Linked DNA regions of Homo sapiens: regions 1 and 2 are each linked to region 3. The links are contacts of gene promoters, found by promoter capture Hi-C in human tissues and cell types (Jung and others, 2019). All regions are on one chromosome and are shown on one strand. Each heading gives the region's core, a stretch centred on a gene start or on the middle of the fragment in contact. The rest is flanking DNA. Distances are from core to core; before and after follow the strand shown.

What was found. Contacts are between HindIII fragments. The study calls those that stand out against the background at their distance.
Region 1: a contact is called between a fragment that was not itself captured here and the fragment with the promoter of SLC10A2 in region 3, in 2 of the 25 tissues and cell types used here (lymphoblastoid cells and mesenchymal stem cells).
Region 2: a contact is called between a fragment that was not itself captured here and the fragment with the promoter of SLC10A2 in region 3, in 1 of the 25 tissues and cell types used here (lymphoblastoid cells).

What each region holds. Positions count from the first base shown.
Region 1 is chr13:103,014,310-103,017,009 of GRCh38, forward strand. No RefSeq gene overlaps it. Among named protein-coding and RNA genes, the nearest start is that of SLC10A2, 51 kb to the right of the region's middle. The HindIII fragment of the contact is 3,730 bases long and covers 1-2,700 here.
Region 2 is chr13:103,108,687-103,111,386 of GRCh38, forward strand. No RefSeq gene overlaps it. Among named protein-coding and RNA genes, the nearest start is that of SLC10A2, 44 kb to the left of the region's middle. The HindIII fragment of the contact is 5,400 bases long and covers 1-2,700 here.
Region 3 is chr13:103,065,060-103,067,759 of GRCh38, forward strand. SLC10A2 (solute carrier family 10 member 2) reads right to left here and starts at 1,358. Exons shown (of 6, transcript NM_000452.3): 1 at 814-1,358. The coding sequence starts at 1,190. The HindIII fragment of the contact is 6,207 bases long and covers 164-2,700 here.

The sequences.
Region 1 (2,700 bases), core at 51-2,550, 51 kb before region 3:
CAACCAATAAAATCAGTCTCCCTCAAACATATTTTAGTAAATGGAATCCTCACTGCCTCACTCTCTGAAGCCAGACATTTGGAAATCACCCTTGATTTCTCACCATTTCAGTCTTGGTTCACATTCTCTCCGCTCCTGGATTAGTTCTTGCCTAAATTCATCCTGTATTTCTGCCTCAGTGATTTTTGTAATATTCAAATTACATTACATGATTTCTTTGTCCAACATGTGACGATGATTCTGCTTTACCTAAGGATAAAGTCCGTATTTCTTGGTAGGACATATTAGACCCCCCACGGTTGGACTGGCACCTCCTCTCCTATCATTGTTTCCTGACACCTGTATGTGCAACAAATGCCCCATCCACGGCAAATGAGCCCCAGTTCTCCAAACTCGGCATGTTCTCTCTCACTTATGAACTGTTTAACATTTTTCCTGCTCTTCCTCACTTAAATGCTCTTATCCCTTTTACAACCATGTCAGACTTTTTCTCCACTTCAAAATTCACTTCAGGATGTATTTCCTGGGGAAGCTTTTCTAGATCCCCACATGGCTGGAATTTCTGTTTTTCTACAGCACTTTTGAAACACTCCTTTTAAAGCATTCGTCTCACCATCCTGTAGGGGCTTATTAATTTTTCCCTCTTCCTTGCTAGACATTAAGTGGGCTCCTTGACAGCAAGGGATCTTCTTTCATTCATTCACCGCTAGCCCCAAGCATATTACCTGGCACATAGTAGGAGTTAAAGAAAGCTTTTTAAAAAAGTGAATGCATTCTATAAAATCCAAGCAATATGCCACATGCACTGTTGTTTTGCCACTGTGTCATTATAAATTTTTTTTTGTGATAAGGTTTTTTACCCAACTATATTGAAAGTCTGGGTGAGAAATAACTACAGATCGTGATTCTTCATATCTGCTTGTGTAGTAATGTGAATTCTTCAGAGAAACAGAGTCAATAGGAGACATATATATATATCTATATATACATATGAAGAAATGTATTGTGAGAATTGTCTCACATGATAATGGAGACCAGGAAGTCCCACCATCTGCCACCTGCAAGGTGGAGAACCAGAAAAACTGGTGGTGTAATTTAGCCTAAGTCTGAGTGTGAAGACCTGAGAACCAGGGGGCCTGATGGTGAAAGTCCCAGTCTGAGTCCCAAGGCCCAATAACCAGGAGTGCCGATGTCTGAGGGAAGGAGAAGATGGATGTCCCAGCTCAGAGAGTGAATTTGACCCTTTTCCACATTTTTCATCTATTCAGGCCCTCAATGGATTGGATGGTGCCAACCCACATGGGTGAGAGTGGATCTTCCTTAGTCTACTAATTCAAATGCTAATCTCTTCTGGAAACACCCTCACAGACACACCCAGACATCATGTTTTACCAGCTGCCTCGGCATCCCTTAGCCTAGTCATGTTGACACATAAAATTAACCATCATATCTTGTTATAAGCAAAGTAGGCCCTCAATTTTTCTTTTCGACAAATGAATGAATGTTAGATGACTGAGAAGGAAGCAAATAGACACAATTATGAGCTTGTGGAAGCCTCCATGGGCCATTGTCCATTTTCCCTCCCATTGCCATTGCAAATGAGGCTGCCTTAGAAGGAATTTTGCCACTATTTATTTTCTGGCTTATCTGCTGATGCTGCAGTAGTAGATGCAATAGGAGAGGGAGCATTGGAGAGGCTAATGAGGAGGACGACGACAAATTTAGGAGAAGGAGAAGCAAAAGTATAGGCTAGGAGAGGCTCTGGTTAATCCAGCATTGATTAACCATCAGAGCAATATCATCAACCACTGGAGCAATATCATTTCAACAGGGGGAGCTGAGTGTAGAGGAGGGGAGATGGATATTTGTGAGGTTTGTCAGTCGGGTTTATGAGGCTTGGTTTGAGCTAGTTGTGGAGAGGAGTGTGATGGTGAGAAAAAATGCAGCCTGTTGGCAGGACCCCTGCAGGAAGCTGCTGGAGCCATTTCCCAGAGCACAGATAACACTGACAAGTCACACGGCAGGAACTGTTTTCATAGATCTTTTCAAACACAATTAAGTGGATCTAAAATAGAATTTTAAGCTCCCACAACACCTTGACATCAGAAAACCATGAATAAATAAAATTACAAATCAAAATGCAATTCAAAGGGATTCCATGTGATAATGCCTTTTTCAATAAATGCTGCAGAAAAATATTGTGTGATAAAACCGTATCATTTCAATTTTCTCCTCGGGGATTTTATATCCGTATGCTTTTATGTATAAAAATGTGATTTTGAAAAAAGCCCTGCCACGGAGACTCCTGGGTCCCCAGTAGGTGTTCACAGTAGGAGCAGGCATGGAGGGGCTGGCGGCATCTGTGCCAGGCGGACTGCATTTCCTTATGACATTTTGTGGGGCAGGGAAAACTCTGCCATTCACCTCCTTCAAGGGACTGCCATTTGTATAAGATTCTCCCTCCAGGGATTGTTCCCTTGGGTTAGGGTATATTTCTAGGAAGTTCAAGTTAAATTACAAGTACATTAGCAAGGACGAGCAGCACATTAATCCAATTACAGGCATAAAGACCTTAATGCAAATTTTTCTAAAATGCATTTTACAGAATATTATTTCTGAGACATATTAAGTAAACAAAGGGGGTCTGTGACCAGACAAGCTTGGCAAACCCTGGGTTAAATAGAAACAAAGGATTCTTGC
Region 2 (2,700 bases), core at 117-2,616, 44 kb after region 3:
TGGCCTTGATCAGGGTTCAGAACACCACGAGTCTACGAGGGGTGAAGGATATTCTCCTGGGATCGAAAGGGAAAGATTCCTTAAGTCCCCTCCTGGGTGAATTGCATCTGAAAGCTTTGCTGGCAGCTTCTCTGCACTGAAGCTCTGGTAAATGTCTGGGTTATCTCAGTAAAAATAACTCTTGGGCTAAGGGGAAATGTTCTTTTTTGTACTTTCCACACAGCAGCCTGACATTGCTTGCAGTGTCTTTGTTGGACATCACTGGGCTTAGCCGCACCCTTGATCCACTCTGGCCAGTCCATACGGAAGTCAAATGCTCCCCGCTGCAAGCAATAAATACAACATAGCCCAGAGGAAATTTATTTATTCCAGCAGCCAGGTGTTTGGGCCTCAGTACCTCTTCATGAGTCAGAAAAAAAAAATAGTAGTTTTCTATTTGTCTCCCTCCAACTAATCTGAAATTCTTCAGGCATTATATATAACAGCTGAGTCTTAACGCTTCCTTTCAAACTTTAATCAGCGACATGAGGCACATGTGCTTGTCTCCTGTGTGTTCCTCATCATTTTTAAGTGCCAGTTTGTAGGTTTAATATCATCTAAAATGTCAGGACTCTGGCATGGTTCTAATCTGAGTCCCTTTCTATCTTTCCTCCATTGTTTATGGAAATGATATGAATGCGCCTCCACTCAGTAAGGATTTGCTGAGCATTTTGCCACATTTGTCTTAAGTTCTGAGCTCATCTGGCTCCTTAAAGATGTTTGATTTTGTGTAATCTCAAGGGAGATTATGTTATTACGAAGAGGCATAGAAAACAAAACCGACTTCAGAATGGGTCGTAGACGTGCTGAGGTTCTAAGCAGGTGGACATCTGTGGTTGGCTCCTGTGAGCGGACCTTGGATGAGCAGAAACTGTTCTCTTGTACGAGTTTTCCAGGCTTTCCAATTCCTCAGCATCGTGGAGTCATGAGGTGTTATTATACTGTCATTAATGAGTGACTTGGCTTATTGAATATTATAGTTTGCATGTAAGGTGGCTTAGTCAAATAGCAGTTCATTTCCCTTAAAGCATGAAGTATGGTATGGTCTAGTGGTTCTGTGACATCCCTGAGTCCCAGTCTCCTCCTGCTGTTCTGTTCCCCCGTCCTGACCTTATGGCTTTTGTCGTCTCATTTACCACCTCATGGCTGCAAGAAGGAGGCTTCAGCTTTCTCCCCCTCACCTGGTCCAGAAGTATCTCAGGACCCTGCTCTCCCTCACCCCACCCTCATTCTTGCAAGGGAGGCAGTGAATCTGAGTATTTCTGGCAAAACTTATTGATGCCCTGGGCAACACTGGGATTCTTTAGTAACAAATAGGGGGAGTATTTGGTGTACAGTCCACCCAAGATACATATCTTAATTCTCTTCTGAGTCTAATAATCACTTTTTGTTTCATCTGGTCCTGCCTCCGGGCAGTATCGGCGTTGTAGTTTCTGTTAAACGCTTCCCTGTGCTCTCAGTGTTTTCCCAATTAATCTTCTGCCATTGCTCACTCAGGGTCCTTGACACGTTGCACATAACTAGGTACAGAAACCTCAAGTATCTTGACTGCTCTTTGAGGCTGTTAGACCCCCCTGACTACTTCCATGGTTCTTCATTCTGGCAACCGAGACTCCCTTCAGACCTGCCTCATATCCATGAGTCCCCTAGTTTTATAGTCTGTTTCCTTACTGATTCTTGGTGTCTGCATTTTTGTGGGTTTTTACCCCCTTAGAACCTCTCAGCACATCTACAACCCATTCTGAAATCGGTTTTGTTTTCTGGACCACTGGAAAAGCTATACACCCTGTGACCAATGCCTGTTAGAAGTCTCCAAAGCTTTAAGCAGTGGTTCTCACTGGAGGTCACAAAAGGCAGTACTCATGCCAGGTGCTTTCTGTGTTAAGTGCATAAACCCTGAATGCACTCTAACCACATTCCCTTCACTTCATATATCTGAATTGTCAGGGGGACCCAGGAGAGGCTCAAATTGAGGATTTTCCCTCTAGACATTGCTGTTATTCTGGTATGACCTGTGGTGAGGGGAGGATTGATGCCATTACTTGGACAGGAAATCTAAATTAGTAATTTTCTTTCCAAGTAGGATGACTGCTGGGTAGAAACTTAAGATTCTGGAGGTAGAAAGAAATCTAGACAACATTGGTCAAATGCCTGTGTTTCATGGGCAAGACACCTTGCTTCAGAGAGATGGAATTATTAGAAGTCATATGTGTCAGTAGGGGTGGGTCCAGACTTAGGAGCCAAGGTTTTACATGCTTGGCTATAGGGTTTTCCCCTCATATTTTTTTTTGGAGAAAGATTTTATCCTTCTACACCTGCCCCTTTCACCTAGGAAGGTTGGAATCACCAAGAAGACTGACTAGCGGTAAGAGCAGTGGGTGGCTCGAGATACTCAGCCACCTGGTATCCACAGATATGATTGAAACAGCCTTTATGAAGACACTAAAGGGTCTCAGCTAAATCTTCTTACATGTTCTGCCTTGGCCTCCCCTCCTTCTGTACTTAAAAAGTATTTTGTCACTACACATTATATCATTGCAGTTGCTTTATATAATTAACCTGGAAGAAAAAAAAAGGTGTCTGATTTCAAAGGAGAGTCAGAAATGCATTAATTTACCTTAGCAACTTACTTTATTTAGTGCAAAAGTGTCCCACATACAG
Region 3 (2,700 bases), core at 108-2,607:
TTCAAGGGAAATGAGGAATTGTGAGCTAAGGAAAAAGACATTTGTCTATTCAACTTTTAGCATTAAATTTCTCAATCTAGTCACATTAATGCTTCATCTTATTTCTATTAGTTTTTTTTTCCAGTGCTAGTTCAGACTGGCACGGGATGAAATGGGCAAACATTGCAATTTAGATTACTCTGTAGGAAGTGGAGAAAACGTTTTCTGTTTATTTTGTAGTAAGGTAAGCATAATTTTAAAAAAGCTGCTATAGGCTTTTTCCCCCACTTTTAATGCCAGTAGAGGTGAAGCAAATTTACAAATTCTTCCTTAGGTTTTATACCAGGAAAATGTTTGCCCAAAGAACTGGCTATATTTGATGGAGTTGACCACTGTCTCACTACAGGTTCTAATGTTTGACAAACAGTTTTATTTTATGATTGCACCCAGAGCTCCTCATCATTACAAAGAAAGTGTATTTTGCTTTTTTTTTCCTGCTACCAACAGGATAAACCTCCTCAGCTGCAGCTTGTGGTTTGGAAAAGATTACTTTTTTAAAAAAGCTTTGAATCTTTTCCTAGAGATCAACAGCAATTATGCAACTCCCTGTTAACTGAGTTAGATTTAAAAACACAAACACAAAATATAAATCCCCCAATTCCAATAGCTAAGCAGCTGTGCTAGAAGGCACGGGAATGCATTTATTCTCTCCTGTTTGATTCCTTAGTCATACTTTAGATGCGTGGCAAATCAGTTGGACATTCAGAATGCCATAGGCTTCTGGAAGGATTACTCCAAGGTGATTGCAGTAGTTAGAGGTATAGATAATCTTACCTCAGGTCCATGTCGCCATCGACCCAATAGGCCAAGATATTGGAGGCAGTTCCTCCAGGGCAGCATCCTATAATGAGCACCACTACGGCCTGGAGCGGGAGGATGTCAAAGGCCACCGACAGGATGAATCCTGTGAGGGGCATGATTCCAAACTGACAGAGGAAGCCAACACAAATGCCCCACGGCCGCTTTATGTGCCCTAGAAATTTCTTGATTTCCACGTTGCATCCCATGGAGAACATCACCAAGGCCAACAGGATGGTCAGCACCGTACTTAGGACCACACTTAGGATGTTATTGAAATTGCTCTCAGGTACCACACAGGATGCACCAGAGCAAACTGTTGCATTGTCCACACAGCTGTTCGGATCATTCATTGCTGGGTCTGCTGCTGGAAAGGCCAAGTCCACAGAAGCGCTGGTCCCTGGGCCCTGGCTCTGCTGCTGGTTGAGTTAAGCAACGTTTACTTCTACCCCATCAAACTTTTAAACCCCTCCTAAAAATATGTCACTTGGTGTCTCTTTTGAAAGCCACCTTAGGGAAGTAATAAAAAACAATAAAGCTAGGATGTCAGTTTCAAGAGGTAGCATTACAACACAGAGCACGTTGTGAATCACAAAAGTCCAGCAAAATTATTGGTCAAGACAGAGAGTTACGATTAATCATTTATTGGCATGATAATGAACCATGCCATATAAAAAGAGCCACGTTAATGTTTAATGTCCTCGAGGGTTTGTTGGATAATTTCAGTTAAGTGACTTTTAAAATCAACTCTGAATAGTACAGAATCTTATAGGGATTGAGCCATAGGAACCATGCCATATAAAAAGAGCTGTGTTAATGTTTCATGCCATGAAGGTTTGTTGGATAATTTCAGTTAAGTGACACTTAAAATCAACTCTGAATAGTACAGAATCTTATAGGGACTGAGCCATAGGAACACATATTGTTCTCCCATTTCCCTTTCAATAGAAGGGTTTAGGGCCCTGAATAGTTGAGTGCCCTGTGCCTAATTATGTTGCAAATCAGGTGTCAGACTCTGAACTGGGACCCAGATCTCCATCCAATTTCCACTCCCAGTAGTTTTGCTACTGTATCAGTGTTTCCTGGAATTGCTTTGTAGTGTCCATAAAGTATATGGAAATTTAAGAAACTTCTAGGGTCTTGGTGCAAATCTGAGAGAGTAACATTTGGGAAGATAGAATGTTTTCTGTGTTTCCTGGTGGAAAGGAGTCTGACTTGCACAGCCACCCTCAACTACTTACACATGCAATTATGTGTGCGTTGTCATAGTAACAGAGTACTTTATAGATGGAGACAATACAATTATTTAGAGGGATGAACCTCAGAGAATTAGGTCAAAGTGACAGGATCTCTTTGTGCTTGGAGTCATAAATTGAAATTCGATTTTTTTTTTTTTGGCAGGGGGATTCCAAGAGAGATTTTTGTAAATGTCAAATAGTCGACCTCATGCTGGGCAGAACGCTGTATTTCAGTATACAGGGAAGATAAAGAAAGAGGTAGAGAAGAGATTGTCCTGTTTTCAGGAGTTTATAACCCAGTTATTGAGTTAGGACACAGAGTAATAATAAAATTGAATATTCCGATCATGATTCACAATTTGTAGGACAAATTCTAATTTATTATTCAACTTAATCATCTTAAATTAAGTAGGATTAGCACTCCCATTTTACAGATGACGACTTAAGGGTTGAGGAAATTGAGTGCTTTAGATAAGGTTAAAGGGAAATGAGAGAACAACGTGTTTTCCTATGGCTGGTATCTGGAAATACTGGAACCGAGCGTTCTGATTATGTGAAGAAAGTGGTCGGTTTGGCTTGCTGGGGATTGGAGTAATATCTTAGAACAGAGCTTCTCAAAACTCAG